Regions from separate parts of the Homo sapiens genome. Here all the other regions are linked to region 1. The links are contacts of gene promoters, found by promoter capture Hi-C in blood cells and fetal thymus (Javierre and others, 2016). All regions are on one chromosome and are shown on one strand. The core of a region is centred on a gene start or on the middle of the fragment in contact, and the rest is flanking DNA. Distances in the headings are between cores, read along the strand shown.

Evidence for each region. The method cuts DNA at HindIII sites, captures the fragments that hold promoters and counts their contacts. A CHiCAGO score of 5 or more calls a contact.
Region 2: a contact is called between a fragment that was not itself captured here and the fragment with the promoter of BLACE in region 1, in 12 of 17 cell types (monocytes, megakaryocytes, total B cells and 9 more). The highest score is 8.9, in monocytes.
Region 3: a contact is called between a fragment that was not itself captured here and the fragment with the promoter of BLACE in region 1, in 3 of 17 cell types (monocytes, megakaryocytes and M0 macrophages). The highest score is 6.0, in monocytes.
Region 4: a contact is called between a fragment that was not itself captured here and the fragment with the promoter of BLACE in region 1, in 1 of 17 cell types (neutrophils). The highest score is 5.1, in neutrophils.
Region 5: a contact is called between a fragment that was not itself captured here and the fragment with the promoter of BLACE in region 1, in 14 of 17 cell types (neutrophils, megakaryocytes, total B cells and 11 more). The highest score is 13.9, in neutrophils.
Region 6: a contact is called between a fragment that was not itself captured here and the fragment with the promoter of BLACE in region 1, in 5 of 17 cell types (naive CD8 T cells, neutrophils, total CD4 T cells and 2 more). The highest score is 7.0, in naive CD8 T cells.
Region 7: a contact is called between a fragment that was not itself captured here and the fragment with the promoter of BLACE in region 1, in 1 of 17 cell types (fetal thymus). The highest score is 6.6, in fetal thymus.

What each region holds. Positions count from the first base shown.
Region 1 is chr7:155,366,110-155,369,404 of GRCh38, reverse strand. BLACE (B cell acute lymphoblastic leukemia expressed) reads left to right here and starts at 1,472. Exons shown (of 6, transcript NR_103545.1): 1 at 1,472-1,596. The region is part of intron 2 of LOC105375593 (a long non-coding RNA gene); the gene reads right to left. The HindIII fragment of the contact is 7,901 bases long and covers 1-3,295 here.
Region 2 is chr7:154,934,351-154,937,934 of GRCh38, reverse strand. All of the region lies in intron 2 of PAXIP1-AS2 (PAXIP1 antisense RNA 2), which reads right to left. Among named protein-coding and RNA genes, the nearest start is that of PAXIP1-AS2, 7.6 kb to the right of the region's middle. The HindIII fragment of the contact is 3,088 bases long and covers 237-3,324 here.
Region 3 is chr7:154,975,753-154,979,110 of GRCh38, reverse strand. It overlaps PAXIP1 (PAX interacting protein 1), which reads left to right. Exons shown (of 21, transcript NM_007349.4): 6 at 2,780-3,358. Among named protein-coding and RNA genes, the nearest start is that of PAXIP1, 26 kb to the left of the region's middle. The HindIII fragment of the contact is 613 bases long and covers 1,802-2,414 here.
Region 4 is chr7:155,828,672-155,831,846 of GRCh38, reverse strand. No RefSeq gene overlaps it. Among named protein-coding and RNA genes, the nearest start is that of SHH, 18 kb to the right of the region's middle. The HindIII fragment of the contact is 4,824 bases long and covers 1-3,175 here.
Region 5 is chr7:154,955,339-154,958,885 of GRCh38, reverse strand. PAXIP1 (PAX interacting protein 1) reads left to right here. Exons shown (of 21, transcript NM_007349.4): 14 at 1,592-1,662; 15 at 3,255-3,357. Among named protein-coding and RNA genes, the nearest start is that of PAXIP1-AS2, 29 kb to the right of the region's middle. The HindIII fragment of the contact is 2,800 bases long and covers 362-3,161 here.
Region 6 is chr7:154,889,725-154,893,220 of GRCh38, reverse strand. It overlaps DPP6 (dipeptidyl peptidase like 6), which reads right to left. Exons shown (of 26, transcript NM_130797.4): 26 at 1-887. The coding sequence ends at 741. Among named protein-coding and RNA genes, the nearest start is that of PAXIP1-AS2, 37 kb to the left of the region's middle. The HindIII fragment of the contact is 1,152 bases long and covers 1,290-2,441 here.
Region 7 is chr7:155,775,888-155,779,495 of GRCh38, reverse strand. It overlaps RBM33 (RNA binding motif protein 33), which reads right to left. Exons shown (of 18, transcript NM_053043.3): 18 at 1-3,608. Among named protein-coding and RNA genes, the nearest start is that of SHH, 35 kb to the left of the region's middle. RefSeq lists an enhancer at 3,381-3,608. The HindIII fragment of the contact is 397 bases long and covers 1,229-1,625 here.

The DNA of each region.
Region 1 (3,295 bases), core at 223-2,722:
GGTGGCACCTCTCCTGCGGACGTGCTTCCCACGTAAGGCAGGTATAGGGAGACCTGCCTGTCTAGAAAGACATATGTTTACATGTCAGAGAGAAACACAACACCTGCACTCTCTAACCATTTCCTGAAAGACCCCTCTTGACACACCTTAGGGGCTTCAGGGCCACACTGCCTGGCACAGCTGGTTCCCAGTGTGGACCTGTCTCCACTGCCAGCCCCTGCCCCACCCTCTCCACCTGAGTCCTGATCCCTGGTGACCAAGAGAGGCTGTGCTGCTTCTGGCCTTCACAGTAAGCCAGATGGCCTGGGAAGCGAGACTCTCTCTGCCTCCCAGCACTCCAGGCTGCAGTTGCTGTTTCATCATCCATGGGTGTAAAACACCAAGCAAGTGACATGATACAGAATGACCTCCCTGTGCTGGCAGTGGCACCACAGAAACAGGAAGACTCAGAGCCAGAAGCTGCCTGCGCAGATTGCCATTATGGAGCCTGGGAAATCAAGTCCTAGAAAGATTATCTGTTTTTTTTTTTTTTTTTGAGATAGGAGCTTGCTCTGTCGCCCAGGCTGGAGTGCAGTGGTGTGATCACTGCTCACTGCAGCCTCTGCCTTCTGGGCTCAAGCAATCCTCTAGCTTCATCCTCCCAAGTAGCTGGGACTACAGGCATGCGCCGCCATGCTTGGCTAATTTTTTAAACTTCTTGTAGAGACAAGGTCTCACTATGTTGCCCTGGTTGGTCTTGAACTCCTTGGCTCCAGTGATCCGCCTGCCTCCAGTGATCCTCCCACCTCGGCCTCCCAAAGTGCTGGGATTACAGGCATGAGCCACTGTACCTGTCCTAGAAAGATTAAAGGATACCTCTACGTCTACCTCTACCTCTACCTCTACCTCTACCTCTACCTCTACCTCTACCTCTAACCTCTAACCTCTAACCTCTAACCTCTACCTCTACCTCTACCTCTACCTCTCCCCACGGTCTCCTTCCACGGTCTCCCTCTGATGCCGAGCCGAAGCTGGACTGTACTGCTGCGATCTCGGCTCACTGCAACCTCCCTGCCTGATTCTCCTGCCTCAGCCTGCCGAGTGCCTGTGATTGCAGGCACGCGCCGCCACGCCTGACTGGTTTTCGTTTTTTTTTGGTGGAGACGGGGTTTCGCTGTGTTGGCCGGGCTGGTCTCCAGCTCCTAACCGCGAGTGATCCGCCAGCCTCGGCCTTCCGAGGTGCTGGGATTGCAGACGGAGTCTCGTTCACTCAGTGCTCAATGGTGCCCAGGCTGGAGTGCAGCGGCGTGATCTCGGCTCACTACAACCTACACCTCCCAGCCGCCTGCCTTGGCCTCCCAAAGAGCCGAGATTGCAGCCTCTGCCCGGCCGCCACCCCGTCTGGAAAGTGAGGAGCGTCTCTGCCTGGCCGCCCATCGTCTGAGAGGTGGGGAGCACCTCTGCCTGGCAACCACCCCGTCTGAGAAGTGAGGAGCCCCTCCGTCCAGCAGCCACCCCGTCTGGGAAGTGAGGAGCGTCTCCGCCCGGCAGCCACCCCGTCCGGGGGGGAGGTGGGGGGGGTCAGCCCCCCGCCCGGCCAGCCGCCCCGTCCGGGAGGTGAGGGGCTCCTCTGCCCGGCCGCCCCTACTGGGAAGTGAGGAGCCCCTCTGCCCGGCCAGTCGCCCCGTCCAGGAGGGAGGTGGGGGGGTCAGCCCCCCGCCCGGCCAGCCACCCAGTCCGGGAGGGGGGAGGGGGGTCAGCCCCCTGCCCGGCCAGCCGCCCCGTCCGGGAGGGAGGTGGGGGGATCAGCCCCCCGCCTGGCCAGCCGCCCCGTCCGGGAGGTGAGGGGCGCCTCTACCCGGCCGCCCCTACTGGGAAGTGAGGACTCCTCTGCCCGGCCAGCCGCCCCGTCCGGGAGGGAGGTGGGGGGTCAGCCCCCCGCCCGGCCAGCCGCCCCGTCCGGGAGGGAGGTGGGGGGATCAGCCCCCCGCCTGGCCAGCCGCCCCGTCCGGGAGGTGAGGGGCGCCTCTGCCCGGCTGCCCCTACTGGGAAGTGAGGAGCCCCTCTGCCCGGCCAGCCGCCTCGTCCGGGAGGGAGGTGGGGGGTCAGCCCCCCGCCCGGCCAGCCGCCCCGTCCGGGAGGGAGGTGGGGGGATCAGCCCCCCGCCCGGCCAGCCACCCCGTCCGGGAGGTGAGGGGCGCCTCTGCCCGGCCGCCCCTACTGGGAAGTGAGGAGCCCCTCTGCCCGGCCAGCCGCCCCGTCCGGGAGGGAGGTGGGGGGTCAGCCCCCCGCCCGGCCAGCCGCCCCGTCCGGGAGGGAGGTGGGGGGATCAGCCCCCCGCCCGGCCAGCCGCCCCGTCCGGGAGGTGAGGGGCGCCTCTGCCCGGCCGCCCCTACTGGGAAGTGAGGAGCCCCTCTGCCCGGCCAGCCGCCCCGTCCGGGAGGGAGGTGGGGGGGTCAGCCCCCCGCCCGGCCAGCCGCCCCGTCCGGGAGGTGAGGGGCGCCTCTGCCCGGCCGCCCCTACTGGGAAGTGAGGAGCCCCTCTGCCCGGCCAGCCGCCCCGTCCGGGAGGGAGGTGGGGGGGTCAGCCCCCCGCCCGGCCAGCCGCCCCGTCCGGGAGGTGAGGGGCGCCTCTGCCCGGCCGCCCCTACTGGGAAGTGAGGAGCCCCTCTGCCCGGCCAGCCGCCCCGTCCGGGAGGGAGGTGGCGGGGGTCAGCCCCCCGCCCGGCCAGCCGCCCCGTCCGGGAGGTGAGGGGCGCTTCTGCCCGGCCGCCCCTACTGGGAAGTGAGGAGCCCCTCTGCCCGGCCACGACCCCGTCTGGGAGGTGTGCCCAGCGGCTCATTGGGGATGGGCCATGATGACAATGGCGGCTTTGTGGAATAGAAAGGCGGGAAGGGTGGGGAAAAAATTGAGAAATCGGATGGTTGCCGGGTCTGTGTGGATAGAAGTAGACATGGGAGACTTTTCATTTTGTTCTGTACTAAGAAAAATTCTTCTGCCTTGGGATCCTGTTGATCTATGACCTTACCCCCAACCCCATGCTCTCTGAAACATGTGCTGTGTCCACTCAGGGTTAAATGGATTAAGGGCGGTGCAAGATGTGCTTTGTTAAACAGATGCTTGAAGGCAGCATGCTCGTTAAGAGTCATCACCACTCCCTAATCTTAAGTACCCAGGGACACAAACACTGCGGAAGGCCACAGGGTCCTCTGCCTAGGAAAACCAGAGACCTTTGTTCACTTGTTTATCTGCTGACCTTCCCTCCACTATTGTCCTATGACCCTGCCAAATCCCCTTCTGCAAGAAACACCCAAGA
Region 2 (3,584 bases), core at 531-3,030, 430 kb after region 1:
AAATAAACCTTTGCACATAGGGCCAAATGATTTTTGGCAAGGGTGCTAAGATTTTCAATGGGAGAAAGGACAGTCATTCTAACAAATGCTACTGGAAAAAACTGGATACCCACATGCAAAAGGATGTTGCTGGAACATTACCTTTCACCATGTGCAAAAATGAACTCAAAATGAATCAAAGTCCTAAAGCTAAGAACTAAAACTATAAAACTCTTAGAAGACAACATAGAAAAGCTTCATGATATTGGATTTGGCAGTGACTTCTTGGATACAACACCAAATGCATAGACAACAAAAGAAAATATAAATTGGGCTACACCAAAATGTAAAATGTTTATATATTAAAAGACAACAGAGTGAAAAGGCAACCCATCAGATGGGAAAGAATGTTTGCAAATCATATATCTGATAAAGGATTAATATCTGGAATATATAAGGAACTCCTATGACTCAACAGCTAAGAATCAACTTAATTAAAAAATGGGTAAGAGACTTGAAATAGACATTTCTCCAAAGAAGGCATATAAATGGACAATAAGCACATGAAAAAAAAGAAAGCTCAGTGTCACCAATCATTAGAGAAATGTGAATTAAAGTCACAATAAAATACCACTCCATGTTGGGAGAAAGGCTTATGGGGTGCCTGCATAAACTGGCCATAAAAATATGAGACAATAAGTTGCGGAAAGCCACAAGAGGCCTCTGAAGAAGAAAGCCTTCTTATAGCCACTATGTTCCCATGCTCTGAGCAAGACTTGCTCTCTTATCCATAAACACTGTGTTCAAGGAGAAAGACACTCCTATGAAGCATTAGAATGTGGCTAGATATGCAGGCTCCTAGTTAAGCCCGGTCCCAACAAGTAACTAAAGATATACTATTTGAGCACAAAGGAGATTCACTTAAACCGCCACTGCTATACATTACACGTATAACGCACTGTCTGCCTTTCCCCATTTCACCCCTGAACCCCTGCTTCTCAGATCTAAGTGATTGTACTCAATAAATAGTGTGGAAACCAGAGCTCTGAGCCTTTTGCAGCCTCCACATTTTGCACTGGCCCCCAGCTCCCCACCTTTCACTCTTAACTTGTCTCTTCTCATTCCTTTGCCGCCACCAAACTTTGGGTACCCGTGGGTGGCGTTGAGGCTGGACCCTAACAACTCCACACTCATTAGAATAACTACTGTCAAAAAAAAGCAGGAAATAACACATGTAGGTGAGGATTTGGAGAAATTGGACATGTGTGCACTGCTGTTGGGAATGTAAAATGGAAAACAGTATAGCATGCCCTCAAAAAATTAAAAATAGTATCAACATATGATTTAGCAATCCCACTTCTGGGTATATACCCAAAACAATTGAAAGCAGGGGCTCCTCAAGATATTTGTAAGCCCATGTTTATAGTAGCAGCATTCACAATAGACAAAAGGTGGAAGCAAACCAGGTGTTCATCATTAGATGAATGAATAAACAAATGTGTTCTATTCATACAAGGGCATATCATTCAGCCTTAAAAATATCACTCAGCCTTAAAAAGGAAGAAAATTCTAACACACACTACAACATGGATGAACCTTTGAAATATATTGCTAAGTGAAAGAAATCAGTTACAAAAGACACATAGTGTATGATTTATCCTACACTTCAAAATATAATGCTAAGTGAAAGAAATCAGTCACAAAAGGCAGATAATGTATGATTCCACTTGCATGAGGTTCCTAGAGTAGTCAAATATAAAGACACAGAAAGTAGAATGGTGGTTTCCAGGGGCTGGGAGAAGCGTGGAGAGTTATGTAATGGGCATAGAGTTTCAGTTTTAAGATGAAAAAAGTAATGGAGATGAGGTGGTGATGACTGCACAACAATGTGAATGCACTTAAAAGTAACAAACCTGTACACTTAAAAATGGTTAACGTGTTAAGTTCTGTATTGTGTATATTTCATCACAATTTAAAAACAAGGAAATGCAGAGCACTAGTTTAGCCAGTGAACTGATGACAAGGAGGTTGGCCAAGGGGAGATTCTGTTGGGAATTCATATTTAGCTCTTCCACAGGACTTTCTTTAAACTTCTCTTAAACCTTGTGTTCAAAACCTGATATGGTCTGTCTTTGTGTCCCCACCCGAATCTTATCTTGAATTGTAACCTGAAATGTAATCCCCACGTGTTGGGGCAGGGACTTGGTGGGAGGTAAATAAATCATGGGAGCAGTTACCCCCATGCTATTCTCATGATAGTGAGTGTGTTCGCATGAGATCTGATGGTTTTATAAGGGGCTTTTTCCCCTTTGCTCAACACTTCTCCTTTTGGGCACCATGTGAAGATGGACGTGTTTGCTTCAACTTCTGCCATGATTGTAAGTTTCTCGAGGCCTCCCCAGCCCTGTGGAAGTATAAGTCAAACCTTTTCCTTTATAAATTACCCAGTCTCCAGCAGTTCATTATAGCAGTGTAAGAATAGGCTAATACAGTAAATTGGTACCACAGAGTAAGGTGCTGCTATAAGGATACTCAAAAAATGTGGAAACAACTTTGGAACTGGTAATAGACAGAGATTGAAACAGTTTGGAGGGCTCAGAAGAAGACAGGAAAATGTGGGAAAGTTTGGAACTTCCTAGATACTTGGAGGGTTCAGACGACAAGGAGATATGCGAAAGTTTGAAACTTCCTAGAGACTTATTGAATGGTTTTGACCAAAATGCTGATAGTGAGGTGGACAATGAAGTCCAGGCTGAGGTGGTGTCAGATGGAGGTGAAGAACTTGTTGGGAACTAGAATGAAGTTGACTCTTGCTATAGTTTACCAAAGAGACTGGTGGCATTTTGCCCCTGCCCTAGATATCTGAACTAGAGAGGGATGATTTAGGGTATCTGATGGAAGAAATTTCTGAACTTTAGAAATTTCTTTAGAATTCTGTTTTAGAATTTTGACTTCTAAAGCAAAGCATTCAAGAGGTGACAGAGCATAAAGTTTGGGAAATTTGCAGCTTGACAATGCGGTAGAAAAGAAAAACTCATTTTCTGGGGAGAAATTTAAGCCAGTTGCAGAAATTTGCATAAGTAACGAGGAGCCAAATGTTAATCACCAAGACAATGGGGAAAATGTCTCTGGGGGATGTCAGAGACCTTTGCAGCAGCCCCTCCTATCACAGGCCTGGAGGTCTAGGAGGCAAAAATGGTTTCATGGGCCAGGTCCAGGGCCCCCCTGCTGTGCGCATCCTGAGGACTAGTTGCAATGCATCCCAGCTGCTTCAGCTCTAGCTGCGGCTAAAAGGGGCCAAGATACATGCTCAGGCAATTGCTTCAGAGGGTGAAGCCCCAAGCTTTGGCAGCTTCCACATGGTGTTAGTCCCTCAGGTGTGCATTAGACAAGAATTGAGGTTTGGGGACCTTCACCTAGATTTCAGAGTATGTATGGAAACGCCTGGATGTCCAGGCAGAAGTCTGCTGCAGGGGTGGAGCCCTCATGGAGAACCTCTGCTAGGGCAGTGCTGAAGGGAAATGTGGGGTCAGAGCCCCCACACAGCATCCCCACTGAGGCATTGCCTAGTGGAGCTGTGAGAAGAGGGTCACCATCCTCCAGAC
Region 3 (3,358 bases), core at 859-3,358, 390 kb after region 1:
AAACATTGCTTTCCTCTTAAATCATCTTTGTTTAAACAGTTACTGTCTTTCAGTGATTAAAAACTACCTATCTTGTGAAAAGCGAGAGAAAACTTGAGTGAAATATAGTAAGGCTGTTTACCTAAGTGTTTTACTTAGATTTCCACAGGAAATAGTCAAGTTATTTCTGAAATGTGAAATGCCAGCATTCTATACAAACTAGGAACTCAAGAGCCTACTGGATCCCAGCCTTTTAAGTGTGAAATTATCTTTTTCATATCCAAAATTTTCAGTGACTCCTCTTCATGGCAGTAGTTTTGTTTTGTTTTTTGGTATTTGTTAAAACAATTAAAAATAACTTTTTTTCATATTTTACTATTTCAACAGATATCTTTTTAACTTGGAAAAATCATATGTAAACCATATTACATATAGTCATATGTTATTCAAGCAGATGATATTTTTGTATTAATTGGTTCATAAATATTCTGCTGTGTACCTGGACTTCATATTTTCCTAAAATAACTTGGGTTTTTCTGGAATGGGTAGTCCAGAAATTGAAAATCTCTAGTAGAAATTTATCATCTGGGGAGAGCTATATAACATTTTATGCTTTTAAATATTTAAGAACAGCATGATTTTTTAGGGTAAAGAATAAGACATTTTATTGTCGAGGGTATAGGTAAATTGATGTACTCTTACATAGCTGTTGGAAGTGTAATTGGAATAGCCTTTTTGGGAAGGGAAGTGTAGTTAGAGATATGAAGCCTTAAATCTATTCCTTTTCAAACCTCAACACCAAAACCTAGGAATTTGTCATAAAATATAACTGCAGTTTTTCATAGTAGTGAAACACTGGAAACAACCACGTGGCTAACACTGGGGGATGAACTAAGGTACACAGCTGTGCAACCGAAGAGGAAACTGTAAAAGCCTTTGAGACTACTGGGGAGATCTGAATAGGGCCTGAGGATGAGGTGAATCATAGTTCATTGTGCTGCTATGATAATTATGGTGGTTTAGAAAGTCTTTATCAATTTGAGATCCGTAAACAAAGTTCAGGAGAAGCAAGATTTGTAAAAGATTGCCAGTTATTAAAGCTGGGTGACAGATACAAGGGATTTATTCCACTAGTCTCTAATTTGGTCTGCGTTCGAAAATGTACATTAAAAAGTTTGGTCTGCGTTCGAAAATGTACATTAAAAAGTTTGGTCTGTGTTCGAAAATGTACATTAAAAAGTTAAAAACAAAAGCATAAAAGTATACATGTTTTCATAGGAAGAGGTTGTTCACAATATATTAAGTGAAAAAGGAACATTATAAAGTATTTGTTCACTATGACTATATGTTTTTTCCCTTTGCCCTTTTAATATATGTACATATATATTTATAACAAAAATAAATTTAAACTATACCCTAAAAATGTTAATCGTGGTCCTTTCTAGTCAGTGTGATTATGATTACATTCATTTTCCTTTGCTTAGCTTCTTATTCATGGGTGTCTCCCATGACTAGGTTTTTCTTATATTTTAAAAAGGTTTGAGAAAGAACAAACTCACAAACACAAGTTAAGTCACTGAGCTGTGTGCAGAGCTCACTATTTGCAAGGATCTCCCAGATGGGCAATGCCTGGCGTTCGCTGCCAGGACCGAATGACCAACAGCTGTCCTCTCTGTGCTGCTGCCCCGCATCCCTATTGCGTGTGACTCTTATTCCACCCAGAAATTGCAAATGCCACCTTGGGGCTCTGCAACAGGACACGGAGTTTAGTTTAGGGCCCTGATTATGTGTTTGCTAGAGAATTGCTGTTATGTGTTAAGCTTTTAGGAGCACAGCCAAATTTACAACTCATTTATTTTAAGGTTACTTTATTGTCATATTACTCTTATTTAACATTTTTTATTTATTTCCTCTTTCTTTGTTATTCCCTCCCCTGTGCCTTCCACATTCTACACCCTTTACCACAGGAGAGGTCTCTGTTAGCTTGCCGAACATACTACTCCGGACACATCTTTTCCAGTGGGCTGTATTTTCTGCTTTCATTCTAACTGTGCAAATTGTCATCATTTGTGCCCCAGCCAAAGCTCACCTTTCAACGGGGCTTTCCTCCTGCCCTCCAGCTTATGTTGATGAGATTCCCTTCCAGTCTGTTACTGCATCATTCAGCAGTGGTTTTATATTGTATTTGCATTCCGTATTTAATATCTCTTTAGAACCAAATTGTGAGCCTTGTTAGGTCAGAGACTTGTTGCATCCTTTGTGTCTCCATCCCTTAGTGCTGCTTGGCATATAGCATGAGCTCCATAAATACTGGATCTTGAATAGAGCTGTCCTATGCAAGTCAGCCAAGTCAGCCATGCTCCATGAGTGTACGTGATGCATTGGCGGCACTCTGCCACGCTGTTACTTTACTAACTGTCATGGAAAACCAAGCTTCTAAATATTATCAATCAGTAAAAACTTAGGTAGCAATTATTCATTTCATAATTTTCCATAGGATTACTAGCTCTACTTTTGTACTTAAAATATCATTTTAAAAAGTTAATTTTCAGCCAAGTCTTTTAAGACTCCTGCTACAGGTGTGAGACCTTCCTATGATCACTGCTGTATGGTTCCTTTTCACTTTTGCCTCATGTCCTCTGTCTAAAAGATCAAACGTTGCTTCTGTATAAAATTGTAATAATAGTTGCTCAACATTTCAACTGCATTCCTTGACTGAGTTTTTTCTAAAATGCGTAATTGTAGGAAATGTGATAAAATTTACAGCTTTGTTTTGTGTGTGTTTCTGCTTTCCTCGTAGGAGAAATACGAATGTGCTTTAAAGCGAGCAAGTATTAAAATTGTGACTCCTGACTGGGTTCTGGATTGCGTATCAGAGAAAACCAAAAAGGACGAAGCATTTTATCATCCTCGTCTGATTATTTATGAAGAGGAAGAAGAGGAAGAGGAAGAGGAGGAGGAAGTAGAAAATGAGGAACAAGATTCTCAGAATGAGGGTAGTACAGATGAGAAGTCAAGCCCTGCCAGCTCTCAAGAAGGGTCTCCTTCAGGTGACCAGCAGTTTTCACCTAAATCCAACACTGAAAAATCTAAAGGGGAATTAATGTTTGATGATTCTTCAGATTCATCACCGGAAAAACAGGAGAGAAATTTAAACTGGACCCCGGCCGAAGTCCCACAGTTAGCTGCAGCAAAACGCAGGCTGCCTCAGGGAAAGGAGCCTGGGTTGATTAACTTGTGTGCCAATGTCCCACCCGTCCCAGGTAACATTTTGCCCCCTGAGGTCCGGGGTAATTTAATGGCTGCTGGACAAAACCTCCAAAGTTCTGAAAGATCAGAAATGATAGCTACCTGGAGTCCAGCTGTACGGACACTGAGG
Region 4 (3,175 bases), core at 299-2,798, 460 kb before region 1:
GCCAGGGGCTTGAAGGGCTGCCCTGGTTTTACATTTGGAAAAACTGAGGCCCCAAGAGGCAAAGAGGCTCCCAGGCGCACCGTGGGAAGCAGAGCCCCCCGACCCCGCGCTCCTCCCACTGCACTCTCTGTCTCTCTCCTCGCTGAGCACAGGCCTCCTGCACAGCGCCCGAGCCGCGCAGGATATGAAGAAAGGAGAGGCGTGCGCGGTCAGCCCACCCTCTTCCTTGAGCGTCTCTGCCAGGCTCCAGGCTGAGGAGTGGGGACCACCGTCTGATCTCTCCGTGGCTCAAGGGTTTCAGGCTGGTGACCACATCGGTATCTATGGCAACAGCCCCACCACGTTCGCATCCCAGAATCGGACCTCCTGGCCCAGGCCGGGGTCTCCTGACAGCGGAGGACTCAGCCAGAAGATGCAGAAGACCGCTGCTGGGAAACCCGCCGGCCTCTACCCAGCTCCACAGGCTTCTGCCCGGCTCCACCGGCTTCCCTCTCCCTCCCTGAGGCTTGGTGTCCTCCTCTATAAAATGGACAGCCCCGGCTGCCCAGCCTCCCTCACTAAATTGCCAGAACGAAGGAGGTGCTTTGAGAAGTGACAGGCACTGTGCAAACCTCAGGGGCCTCTCCCCTGTCACTCACAGGGCACCCGGTCCGCAGAGCCTCACCTCCTCGGGTGCATCCGGGGTGCTGTTCGGGCAGTGGCTCGGCAGAACCAGCAGCCAAAGTGGCTGAGGGCAGAGTCCCTGACCCCCCGACAACCCGGTCAGAACTCACTCTCCCTTGGTGCCCGGAACGCAGAGGCGCTTCGGAAACAAGATTTCTCATCTGGGTAATTTCGGGATGGCTCCTTCGCCTCGGAACCTGACTTCACTGCCGGGGTCCGCCTCTTACCCCATCCCTGTCTGCCCCCTGCACGCTCAGCCCACTCCTCCCTCCCAAATGTCCCCAGCTCTCTCAGGTCCTCCACCTTGACTGAGAATTCCAGATTTACAGCCTGGGCAACATGGCAAAACCTCACCTCTAAAAAAACACAAAAATTAGCCTGCCACCTAATTAACCAGGCACGTGCCTGTAGTTCCAGCTACCTGGGAGGCTGAGGTGGGAGGATGGCTGGAGCCCAGGTGGTCAGGGGTGCCATGAGTCAAGATCATACCCTGCCCTCCAGTCTGGATGACAGACTAAGACCCTATCTATCTCAAAAAAAAAAAAAAAAAAAGACAGAGAGAGAGAGAGAGAGAGAATTCCAGATTTTGGTCCCGCTCATGTAATTCCCAATTTCACTTGGCAAACGTGGCCTCTCCCTGACTATCCTCCAACTTAGCATCAGTGAGGCCCAGAAATGGCAGCACAGGGCAGCCAGCAGGGTGTGGTGATGGAGCTGTTGCTGTAAGGCACGTGGATACATTGATGCCAGAGGTCACGTCCCCCTTGCCCACCCCTCCCAAGGAGGACGTGCAGGGCTGGACTGGGTGAGAGCCTCACTGATCCAGGGCCTTGGACTCCTCCCCTGGCACGCACAGTGGGTGGTGTTTTACCCATCCTCCTACGAGTCACTCCTTTCCAAGTGCCACATCCCCAGAGGACGTGCCAGGTGCGGCTGCTGACTGCGCTGGGGCCCCATTAAGGCATCTGTCTGCCTGACTGCACAGCTTAGGTCATCATTGGACGGGGTAGGACCCCGTGGACCCGGCTTCCCTTGCATCTCTCAGCTCTTCTGGGAAGGAGGCCACCTCCAGCACTAGCCCAGGAGACGAGTCAGTTACTGGCGTCAGAAGGGGAGGCCCACCAGAGAGAAAGAGAGAGTGGGCCCCTTCTCACTGGAAGGAGGGGACGGCCTTTGGGCAGCCCTGGGGTGTGCACCTGCTGGCACCTGGCCTGGCATGTGCTCCAGGTGCGGGAGTGACTTGGGGTGCAAGGCAAGGCTCTGTGCTGAAGGCTTCATGTGGGCACTCTGTGTTCCAGCTTTATGGAGGAAAGACTGAAATATAAAAATCATAGGTATTTAGTGCGTGCAACATGGTCTTTTGTATAAGTACACACTGCGAAATGGCCATGACAATCAAGCTGACTAACACATCCAATAGCTCACACGCTTTCCATTTTCCTGTCTTAAGAACACTTGAGATCTACCGTCTTTGCAAATTTCAGATATACTTTATTACCGACTATAGTCACCCTGCTCCCCGTTGACCCTCCAATGATAACTGAAACTTTGTACCTTCTGAGTAACAGCGCCCCATTCCCCCAGCCCCCAGCCCCCAGTAACCACCATTCTACAGGCCCCAGCCCCCAGTAACCACCATTCTACTCTCTGATACTATGAGTTCCATGTTTTCTTAGATTTCACATAGAGGTGAAATCATGTATATTTGACTTTCTGTGTCTGACTTATTTATTTCACTTAGTATAATGTTCACCAGTTCCATCCACGTTGCTGCAAATGAGAGGATTTCACTGCTTTTTATGGCTGAATAGTACTCCATTGTGCACATACACTGCATTTTCTTTATCCATTCATCCACCAGTGGACACTTAGGGTGATTCCAAACCTTGGCTATTGTGGACAGTGTTGCAGTGGACATGGGTGTGGACAGCTCTTGAGGGCATTGATGGCATTTCCTTTGGGTACATGCCCAGGAGTGGAATGACTGGTGATATGATTTCGATTTGTGTCCCTGCCCCAATCTCACGTCTACTTGTAATTACTAATGTTGGAAGAGGGGCCTGGTGGGAGCTGATTGGATCATGGGGGTGGAGCTCCCCTTTTCTGTTCTCATGATAGTGAATGAGTGCTCACAGGGTCTCGTTGTTTAAACGTGCATAGCACCTCCCCCTTTGCTCTCTTCCTCCTTCTCCAGCCATGGAAGAAGTGCCTCCTTCCCCTTTGCCTTCCGCCATGATTGTAAGTTTCCTGAGGCCTCTCCAGCTAGGCTTCCTGTACAGCCTGTGGAACCATGAGCCAATTAAACCTCTTTTCTGTACACATTCCCCAGTCTCAGATAGTGGTTTGTTTGTTTTTTGGGTTTTTTTTTTTTTTTTTTTGAGACAGAGTCTCGCTCTGTGGCCAGGCTGGAGTGCAGTGGCGCAATCTCGGCTCACTGCAACCTTCCAATTCCCTGGTTCAAGCGATTCTGTTGCCTCAGCCTCCCGAGTAGCTGGGATTACAGGCACACACC
Region 5 (3,547 bases), core at 512-3,011, 410 kb after region 1:
AATATTCTCACAGTTCTTTTAGCTGAAAGGAATTTTATGGTGGCTTTTAAGCTCACACTGGGAAAGTGGTCATCAGAGTTTTCCTCCCAAACTACATGGCCTATATTCTAAAGTTGTCAGGGGCCCCAAATGTCAGCTTCTCTTGTGGCTTTGTATCAGTAATTAAAAGCTAAAAATCTTAGAGACAAAGAGGCCCAGTTTATCCTTTTTGCCTATCCCACCATTTGTTTCTATTCTTGGTACCAATGAATGACAATTTGGAGACTTAAATGCGATCTTTGGAAATAGAGTTGAGAAATTGCTTTCTTATAAAGGCTATAATAGGAAAGTAATAAACTTTCCTGCAAATTATTATAAAGCTTGATTCTCTATGTATGACAGGGCTAATAGATTTTGAATGCTTTCTGTAGATATATTTATTTTGGTTGTCTAGATATGGCAGCAATATTTAGAAAAAATAAGTTGTAGTTGAAGTAAATTAATAAGATTGAGAGCAATTCCTTCAAGTAATAAAACACCTGGGAAAGACATGGTTGGCCCACACAAGTCAAAGAACCTCTGAGTTGAAACTATGAAGGAGGAGTCAACAAGGAATAGGGTAGAATGGAGATGCTGACTGTGGTAGGGACCCCACAAGGGAATCCCATCTCCTTCCTGCTCTCTTTGTGCTTGGCATGGCTTCTGCTCCAGGGTCAGGGACTGGAGCTGGTCCTAGTGGATGTGACCATGTTGCTGAGGCAGAGTGTAGGTTTTGGTACCTTGTCTGGCTGTTGGTAGCAGTGTTGATCTGATTGTCATGTAACATCTTTTGTGAAATCTCATAGGTGAAATTTCTCTTTTAGGAATAGTCTTTTAGGGTGGAGGTGTAATTTCAATCATGTTTTCCACATTCTTTTTTTTTTTTTTTTTTTTGAGACGGAGTCTCGCTCTGTCGCCCAGGCCAGACTGCGGACTGCAGTGGCGCAATCTCGGCTCACTGCAAGCTCCGCTTCCCGGGTTCACGCCATTCTCCTGCCTCAGCCTCCCGAGTAGCTGGGACTACAGGCGCCTGCCACCGCGCCCGGCTAATTTTTTGTATTTTTAGTAGAGACGGGGTTTCACCTTGTTAGCCAGGATGGTCTCGATCTCCTGACCTCATGATCCACCCGCCTCGGCCTCCCAAAGTGCTGGGATTACAGGCGTGAGCCACCGCGCCCGGCCATGTTTTCCACATTCTAAATTGGGACACAGGACAAAATATTTGAAATAAAAACCATTTTGAGAAGTTCAAGGTTGAGGGCTGCATATATATAACATGGAGGAAAAAAAGCAACAAAGATAATTTAAAGTACTGAAAGGATTTTGTGAATAAAGAGGGAAAGAAAAGAACAAAAAAACGATACAGAGGTTCTCTCCGGAATATTAGCTGCTTCTCCCCACTTGCATTGTCCTAGTGATCTTTTGAGGTGAAGACTAGTTCTGATGTGGTGAAGAAGAACATGATTCTTGTATATGTTTAAGTAGTTTGATTATTTGACACATAAATCTTCTGGAAGCTACTGTATTACTTAGTAGATTGATTGAATTAAAGTCGACAATATTTTAATTGCAGAGTATAAGACTACCTCCCAAACTGAAACAGAATGAAGTAGCTAATGTCCAGCCTTCTTCCAAAAGAGCCAGGTATGAGTAATAACCTTAAATTTTTCATTGCTGGCTTTCACAGGTCTGCTTTGGAAAATCGGTGGCAATTGAGGAAAGTTTCTAAAATGTTTTGCAGTAAATAAGATTTGAAAGAGTTTGCTTTTTGCTTTACAACTTTATTGGGATATATTTCATTTTAATGACATAGGCCAGTATATTTTTTATTTTAAAAAAATTCAGTCTTTTTCTTTAAGTGGCATATTATAAGAAGCCCCTTTCCAACATGTAAAACAGAAGTTGCAGTGGTGGAAGTGGGGTGGGAGGTCTAGAACCCAGCTCAGAGATAGACCACGGAGCCCCAGGCCTCCTGGGCACGGCTGAAGAACCTGCTGTACATGCCAAGAGAGCGTGTAGGCTGCCGAGAGAGCATGTAGGCTGCCGAGAGAGCATGTAGGTGCCGAGAGAGCATGTAGGTGCCGAGAGAGCATGTAGGCTGTGGCGTCATCTTGGGTATGCTCCTTGGATCTGCCAGTTCTTGATGAGGACAAAGCAATGTTGGCCACGGTGGGAAGGAGGATCCAGACCCAAAGCCTTTGGAAGGACATGTGCAATGCATATGGCATGTTGGGTTTTGGCTTGGAGTATGCAGATTGAGATGCATATCATTTTAGTGTCATGTCGGCCAGCAGGAGTCAATAATGAAGTCCTTCCAATCATTTAATTAGAAAGGCATAGCAAATGCAGGAGCAAACTAACAGAGCTTTTATTTTCTTCCTTGATTCTAGAAAACTCTTCTTTCCAGACTGTACATGGTGAAATATAACTGCTTGAATTGTTTTTTGCAGTTACCAGGTTCCTCATCTTTTCTCTCCCTGCTCCTCCTCTTTCCCTCCTTCCATTCCCCACTTCCAGAACACAAACTGAACTGTTGACTTTTGTAATAAAATCCTAATTATGTGATTTTTTTGAGGCTGTCATCAAATTACCACAAATACATTTTAAAATAAATTTTTATTGGACTGTCTCAGAAAATAATAACCTGAAAAAAAGACCTAAAAAATTCATGTAAAAAACAAAAAGGTTTAATTTAAAACGTGTGCTTGAGCAGAGCCACGTTTTTATAATTTGTGGTTGAAGAGGGCTAGAATGTGAAAGACACTGGAAGCTCTAGCGACACTCGTCTTGGCTGACTTGTATTGATGGTGAACGTGCAAACAAGGAATGGCCTGAGTCACACAAGGTTATCTTAAAAACTTGATAGAAAAAAATGAAGTGATAGAGCTAGCAAAATCAGTGATGTTTAGAAGCAACTTTGATATTTGCTTTCTTCTGAAAGCCAATTAAAAAAATTAATCAGGAGGGGATTGATGAAGAAGAAAGTATTGATCTTAACCAAAAGTGAATTGGATGCCTCCCTTGGAGGCTTCAAAGGTAGTCTTTTTTGGAAGGTGACTTTATGGAAATGGTGGAAAGAAAGGAAGGACAGATAGCTCATTGTATTTTTCCTTTAAGAATAAAAACCACATGCAGTTAAAGCTTGTTAAACTAATGAAATCCCTTGTTTTCTAAAGAAAATTTTCATTGTAAGTAAATATGAAATCACTACTATTTTATGTGTATTTCTTCCACAGAATTGAAGACGTACCACCTCCCACTAAAAAGCTAACTCCAGAATTGACCCCTTTTGTGCTTTTCACTGGATTCGAGCCTGTCCAGGTTCAACAGTATATTAAGGTGAAATTTCATCTACTTCGTACAAGGATTTTTAGCAGTGTCCTTTTTTGTATATATTTACTTCAGATCAGCAGTTTTATTAACTTACATAGTTTAGATAGTTATAACAGTCTTTATGGTGCATATTTATGAAGTATTTTTAGTAGTATTTATAGTAATAACTAAATATTTAGTGGCTTCCTGCCCTGTT
Region 6 (3,496 bases), core at 616-3,115, 480 kb after region 1:
TTCCGATCTGCTTCTTCATCAAGCGCAAAGTCTACACGTGGACTGGAGAAAGGAAAGGGAAACAAGGCCCAACCCCAAACAGCAAAACAACCCCATGACGGAGACAGTGGAGCATCAGGTTAAAACCATAGAAAAATACGAGTTAATTCTATCAGGTTAACCATTAGCGTAGCTACAGTAAGACTCTGTACAGAAAAGCGTTTTCTTGTAGCCCCTCACCATGTTGAACGTCCTCATTACAGGAAGTAGCAAGCCCATATATGAACACGCACTGCTAAAACAATGGTGCTGTAACTGCTGCGTCCATGGCACTGCGACGTGAGACAGGGTGTGATGTCCCTAACGGGAACACAGAGGCTAGTGTGGGCGGGTCTCATGCTTCCGCTTGGTGGCTGGAATCTAGGGGCCGGTGTCCTGTGGGCTCGCGTGGGGCCTGCGGCCACCATCCTTTGCTCTGTTCCTTGGGGGAGGGGCCGTGGCGTGCCGGTCTCTCGGGCGCCGGGAGGAGGCGCTGCTGCGGGGACAGCGTTGTCCCTGGTGCCATGGAGGCCGTGAGTGATGACCCCGGGGAAGGAGCTTGTTTCCCAAGCAAAACTGCCTTCCGCATCCGAGACACACATGCTATGGAACACCCGGCCCCGCCCCGCCCCGCCCCTCCGAGGGAAGAGGGAGGGCAGGGAAATCCCTCGGTTGCATCTGGTTGTAGAAAGAGCCACGTTTGTGCTTAGAGCGACCTGAGCTTAGTCCTCCTCCTCGTCCTCTTTCGCTGTGACTGTCAGCAGTTTGTCCTGGATCCTGAAGCATTCCACGAAGAAGTTGATGATGGACCGGTACAGATGCTGTTTGAGGCTGGAGCTGGTAAAGTAATGGCTTTCGTCCGGGTAAATCTGCAAGGAAGGCACGGAGAAATTACTCTCCCAGGTATACGCTCCCCAGGGGACGGGAACGCACAGAAGGTGTGGAGTTTAGTGAAACCTGGGCCCCGTCCGGGGCTGGATTGTAGTTGATGAAGTGGGTTTGCTAACCATGCCACTCCTGATGGAAGTGCCTCTTCCTCCTGGGAGATCTGCCTGGCTGTCCCAGTCAGAGGGGCGCCTCCCCTAGCGTGGACATGCACCACCCATTCGTGAAGCCAACCAGCCTTCAAACACCACCACGCCCCCGGTGCCTGGCCCTCTCCAGGCACAGCAAATGCTCAGTGGGAACTGGGTGAAAACATTGGGAAGCTCTTCATTCAACACTCTACAGTCCGGATCTGCTTGCTTGAATTTGCAACATGGATACAAGCTTAGGGACTACAGAGCCGCAGCCCAAGTTTTCAGGGTGTCAGGCTCTGAAAAGAAATAGAATTTCATGCCTGTAATCCCAGTGCTTTGGCAGGCCGAGGCGGGAGGATCACTTGAGGTCAGGAGTTCGAGACCAGCCTGGCCAACACGGTAAAACCGTGTCTCTACTAAAAATACAAAAATTAGCTGGGCATGGTGGGGCGTGCCTGTAATCCCAGCTACTCGGGAGGCTGAGGTAGGAGAATCACTTGAACCCAGGAGGCGGAGGTTGCTGTGAGCCGAGATCGCGCCATTACACTCCTATGCTCTCTCAGTTACACTCTGAGTGTGGGAAACTCCCGTGGAAGGGCTGCGTGCTGTCCTGGGTGCCCACGGGCCCACCCCACAGATTTTGCGTCCTGGCTACTCCCTGTGTGACTGTGGAGGTTAACTTGCCTGAGCCTCGGATTCCAGGTGTGTCGGGTGGGGAGGATAATCACAGACTCCAGCTCATGACACTTTGTGAGAATTAAACAATCTTATAGCCGTGCCGTGCTTAGAATGAGGCCTGGAATGTGGGCTCATTCGGTCCCAGATGCCAATAGGATGATGGCTAATTATTCTACTGCCAATGCGGTGATGCCACCATCTCCTAGGAGCACCGTGAACCATCTGTGCACGTGCAGGGATTCAAAGCCTGCATCTTATTTTTTTCTTTTCTTTTTCAGACAGGGTCTCACTCTGTCGCCCAGGCTGGAATGCCATGGTGTTACCATAGCTCACTGCAGCCTCAACCTCCTGGGCTCAAGTGATTCTCCCACTTCAGCCTCCTGTGTAGCTGGGACCACAGGTACACATGACTACGTCCGGCTATTTTCTAAAAACTTTTTGTAGAGATGGGGTCTTGCTCTGTTGCCTAGGCTGGTCTCAAACTCCTGAGCTCAAGGCAATCCCCGCACCTCAGCCTCCCAAAGTGCAGGGACTACAGGTGTGAGCCACTGCATCTGGCCCAAAACCTACATCTTTCTATGACACTAGACTGCCTCTTCCTGCCTTCTTTGTATGTTTTTGGAGGGTGAAATTCATCTTTATTTTGAAGTATTTATTAATGCTGTCATTAGGCTATGATATGTCATTAAAACATCAAGTAGTACAAGAGGATATGGGCAGGAAGCTTTCTCCTCCTGCCTCAGGCCCCCGTCTCCCGTGCTCTTACCTGGGGCTGGGCCTGGCTCCAGATGCATGGGGTGTCTGTGAAGGCCTTTGCTGTGCCCACATGTGTGTCCCTGGGTGGGTCCTGCTCCCTGATACCCATGGAGCCTGCAGCGATGCAGGCTGCTCTGTACCTGGGGGGTTCAGCTCGCCCCATATCTTGGGGAGTTGCCCACATGAACACATACACATGGACCTTTGGAGCGTCCATGGTCAGTGTGCTTAACACTGCCATGCAACTGCCACACTTACTTTGAAAAAGTCTGAAATCTGAACGTCTTTCACAAGGGAACTCAAGTGTGGTGTAACCCCGTCCTTCTGCCCCTCTTCATCCACACTGGGGTCCAACTCCCTTCTGGCTGGAGCTCTCCCTGCCTGATCAAGCCCACAGGTGGTCCCTCCCTCCCACAGGCAGGGATGCTGGAGGCCAAGGCAGTGATCAGCCCAGGGCAAGAGCTCTCTGAGGGAGGCAGGGTGCCTGCCTGTCATCTGTCCCCAAGGAGCTCTCCCATTCATTCATGTTGGACCTGAAGAGACCATTGGGTCATACCTGTTCCACCAAAGGAGCAGAAGGCAGGAAGGAAATGGCAGAAGTTTCCAGAGACATCCCTGTGCATTACTGGGAAGAGCCCAGGTTTGAGGCTGCTGGGTCAGCACTTGATGCTGTTGTGGACGGGCCACGGGTTGGTTGTGGGAAAGTGAGTTCAGTTCTGGGAAGGGTACCCCTCTTTCACTACTGCCTAGCTACAGATGGCCCCAGGACATCCTGCTAGTGCGTAGTAACATGTGGTGTTGGTCAGAGGGAAGCAGTGGGGCAAGGCTCAGGGCCCACCAGCACCACTCTCACCAACCCAGAACAACAGTCCCACTCTCCGCAGCGGGATAGCCCCAGCCACACTGCTGGGCAGGGTGGGTGCTGGCTTGGTTCTTCTCACTGCCCGGAGGAGGGGAGCAGGGCTGGGGTGGGAGTACGGGGAGATGGTTGTCCTAAAGGGATTTAAACCGGGCTGAAGTACAGA
Region 7 (3,608 bases), core at 178-2,677, 410 kb before region 1:
TTAAGAATGTCCAAAATAACACTCCATTCACAAACTTTAAAAATAGCTGAAAAAGTTAACTGAAATGCTCTTTAAATACACTAAAGTATCTAAGCCTCTCCCTAGTCGATCTGGACTAGCGGCTTTCCGAGTGGTGGTAGTCGGGTGCCTCCGAACCTTTCCTGCCCTGCACACACTCCTATCAGTCAACTCCCTGGTAGAATCGTCACCTCTAATTTTTTGAAAAACCAATAATACCTTTCGAGCTTTCTCTCGCCCACCCCCCTCCCTCCCACTCCAAATTAAAAAAAAAAAAAATGGGGTGGAGGATCATAGCTTAATGAAGGGAAGCCAACCTGGGTCTAAAAGCGATTACGTCAAGCCATAGCTGAGGCCTACAAGTAGGGAGGGAGGGTAATAAAAAAACGAATCCCAGGAAGAGCACCACGAAAGCGGGAAGCCTGAAGTCACCCACAAAGGGCACTGCAGACACCGCACCAGGAATGTTTCTTAAGAGCTGGCAGTCCTCTCCAGGGAGAGAGCAGAGGAGGGGAACAGCCGCAGGGACTAGAGAGTTTCTAGGACTCCACGATGTGCCGGCACAGCATGCTGCCATCACACACGCTGACCTCCTTGTCCTGTGCAATTACATGACTAGGACCTGCCTTCGACAAGCGTCTGATGGTCTATGAGCACATTCCGCTTACCTTCCCAATAAAATAACAAAGAAATACAAAACAAAACAAACAGAACAAAACAAAAACAACAAAAGCCAAAAGAAAACAAGTGATGAGTGATGAGTTCTTCAAACCCATCCCAGGACAAGGCTCCAGGGCCTCGGGGGTCCCTCACCTGCCCTACCTGAACTGTCCCAGCTGATCACCACCCAGTGAAGACGTTCCCCTCCCCCACTCCTCCAGGCCATCCAGCGGATGCCCCTGTGCCGCCAAACACCCTGGCCCAAGGGCTCTCAACTCCACCGACCGGACTGGATGACCTCCCCTGATAAGCCAGTGTGTTAGAAGCAAGTTGATTATTAACACTGAGATGACAGCTTCCCCAATCCCCAGGCCTCTCCTCACCTGGGTCTGTCCATCCCTTCCTCCTTTTCACCCTAAACTCCTCTTCCACCTCCTTCAGTAACAAAGCCTTCTGTTCACAGAACTGAGCAAGATGCTGTTTGAAAAAAAGACCCCTGGGTGCAGGATCTAAGCTCTGCCACAATTCAGAAATGCCACAGAAGCAAGCTTCAACAACTGTTTGCCTGAGACCTTTACAAATCATGCTAAGAATGACCCATATTAAAAATAGTTATGGTGAAGCCACCTCCCGCCCCATCCCATCTCCTCCAGCAAGGCAGGGTGCGGGTGCCTACGGAGGCTGCTGCCTGTCCACAAAACAGAGAAACCCCTCAAAATTTGTCTGGAAAAATGATGAGATTTACTCTTTAGAAGAATATCAGTATAAGGATTTAACAAACGTGGCCAGACCAGTGGTAATGCAAGGTTATCTAAAGTAGCTAAGTGAACTTCTATTACAGCACAAAACCAAAACAAGATAATGCAAAAAGAAAAGAAGTAACTTGGCTCCACATAATCAGCTATTGGTTTACCTTATGAGATACTGATATTTACGACCTTTAAGCTTCTTGAATTTGTGAACAAATAATACACAGATCAGGATAAATGTATTGACTTACTACCATCTTTATAAAAATCGAATATACACACAAACACATCAACAACTGTGGAACTGTATCCATTAAACTTTGATAAGACAACACAAAGAACTAATAGCTAAGATGTGGCTGAGTTGAAAGCACTTCCAATAGTATTTTAATTTTAAAAGGTCCATATTTACATGGTATGCTAAATGCTCTTGCATCTCATTTTAAATGCATGATGAACTCAAGAACAAAGATAATGGTTGCAGCAGATCTTCCACGAGGGTTTGGCTGGTGTGGGCTGACTTCACGTGAGCAGCATACCAAACACCTAAGTACCATTCCTTTCTCATTCTGCTTCTTTCCTTTTCTGTAGTTTCCTTCAAGGAAACTAAACCTTCATTACTGGGATTGTCTGGTACTAAGAATCCATTTTCGATGGTTGTGGGTATTGAGTGAGGTCGGACTGTGTTGGACTGTTCTAATCAGCGCTTTAAGGCGGGCCTGCATGACTTTGCCAATCACCTTTCAAGAACATTCTATGAGAAAGTCTGCCTATGTGCACGTGTAGACAGTTAGAGAAACACGCACACCCCAGGGCCTGTGTCACACTCAGGTAACACCAAAACAGACCTTCCAGTGGCCATGAAGTCCACCTTAACAATGAAGGCCCAAACAGGATCCGTTTTATTAACACTGACTACAAAAAAGTCTGTTTCAATGCCTACTTTTCAGAGACAACATGCATATTTTTGGTTTTAAACACAGCACACTCTATTTCAAAAAGTGTTTAAAAAAAAAAAAAGTCATGAAACTCATTTCATTGTATCAGTAAGCCCTCAATGATAAAGTAAGTCGGTAGGCCTTCCCACTGCCCAGTGGGTACTGAGTGGTTTGGATCTCTCTTAATTAGAGCTCAAGGGCTACCAAAGTCACCACTCCAACGCAGCTGTGGACTGAGCCAAATAAACTAGACGAAATACATCAACACATCCGTATCTAACTGTGGAAATGAGTGGGCAGTGACAGCCATGGGAACCTGCTGATGGGCACACAGACCTGCTCCCTGGACAGCCTCCTGCAGGCATGGTGAGGCAGGGCTGACTGGCAATCCCATCTTCCGAGGGTTGGCTGGGACACTCTGGAGCAGAGGTGGCGGCAGCACAGCTGCAGGGTCCTAGCAGATCCTACAAGCGCTGTGGCTTCCTGGGACTGACTGCTGCAACAGCCCCTGCAGCGTGCAGTGTTACTCTCAAGCACACAGCAAACGCCACTTTAGAATCACTGCTACAGAAAGGATCGCAGGGTCTGGAAGACCTGCTTCAGCTCTTCAGTTTGTTTTGGTAACTTAATTTGAGAAAGTAATATAAAACGTCAACTGTGGAAACGAGATGACGCAAGTCTGTGCCCGTCTCCTTAGTCCCTTCCTTCTAGGAGGCTGAGAGCCCTAGCGCCATGCTCCCTCCAGGGGCAGTAAGAAAGAACGGGCTTCTATTTCCCTTAATTCTATTAGTAAATGTGACATGAAATCGTAGGTATAAAAGGTAGCTAAAATGTCTGAGTATGCCCTATCATTATTTGCTCAAATAGCTCAGGTCCACTTTAGAATATATCCAAAATAGTGAAACTCTTTCATGAGCAGAAATACTGTAAGGCACTTTTTTCAGTGTTTGCCCAGAATGAATTCTACTACAGTAGCTTTATGGAGAATATGTCTCACCTACAGGAACCTACCCGCAATTACGAAAAGCAGTTTCAATGATGACACAGACTCGTCTCATTTGGGGCTGGAAGAAAGCCACCCTCACCCCGCATGCCACGGGGAACGGCAGGCCAGAGTGAACATCCGCTGATGAACAGGGCAGCCCTGCTGGAACAGCCTTCAGAAAAACAGAGGTGACTGAAGCAGTGGCCACCAAATTCCCAAAGAATGTCATGTATCACAGAGCCAGTGATAAACAGGCCA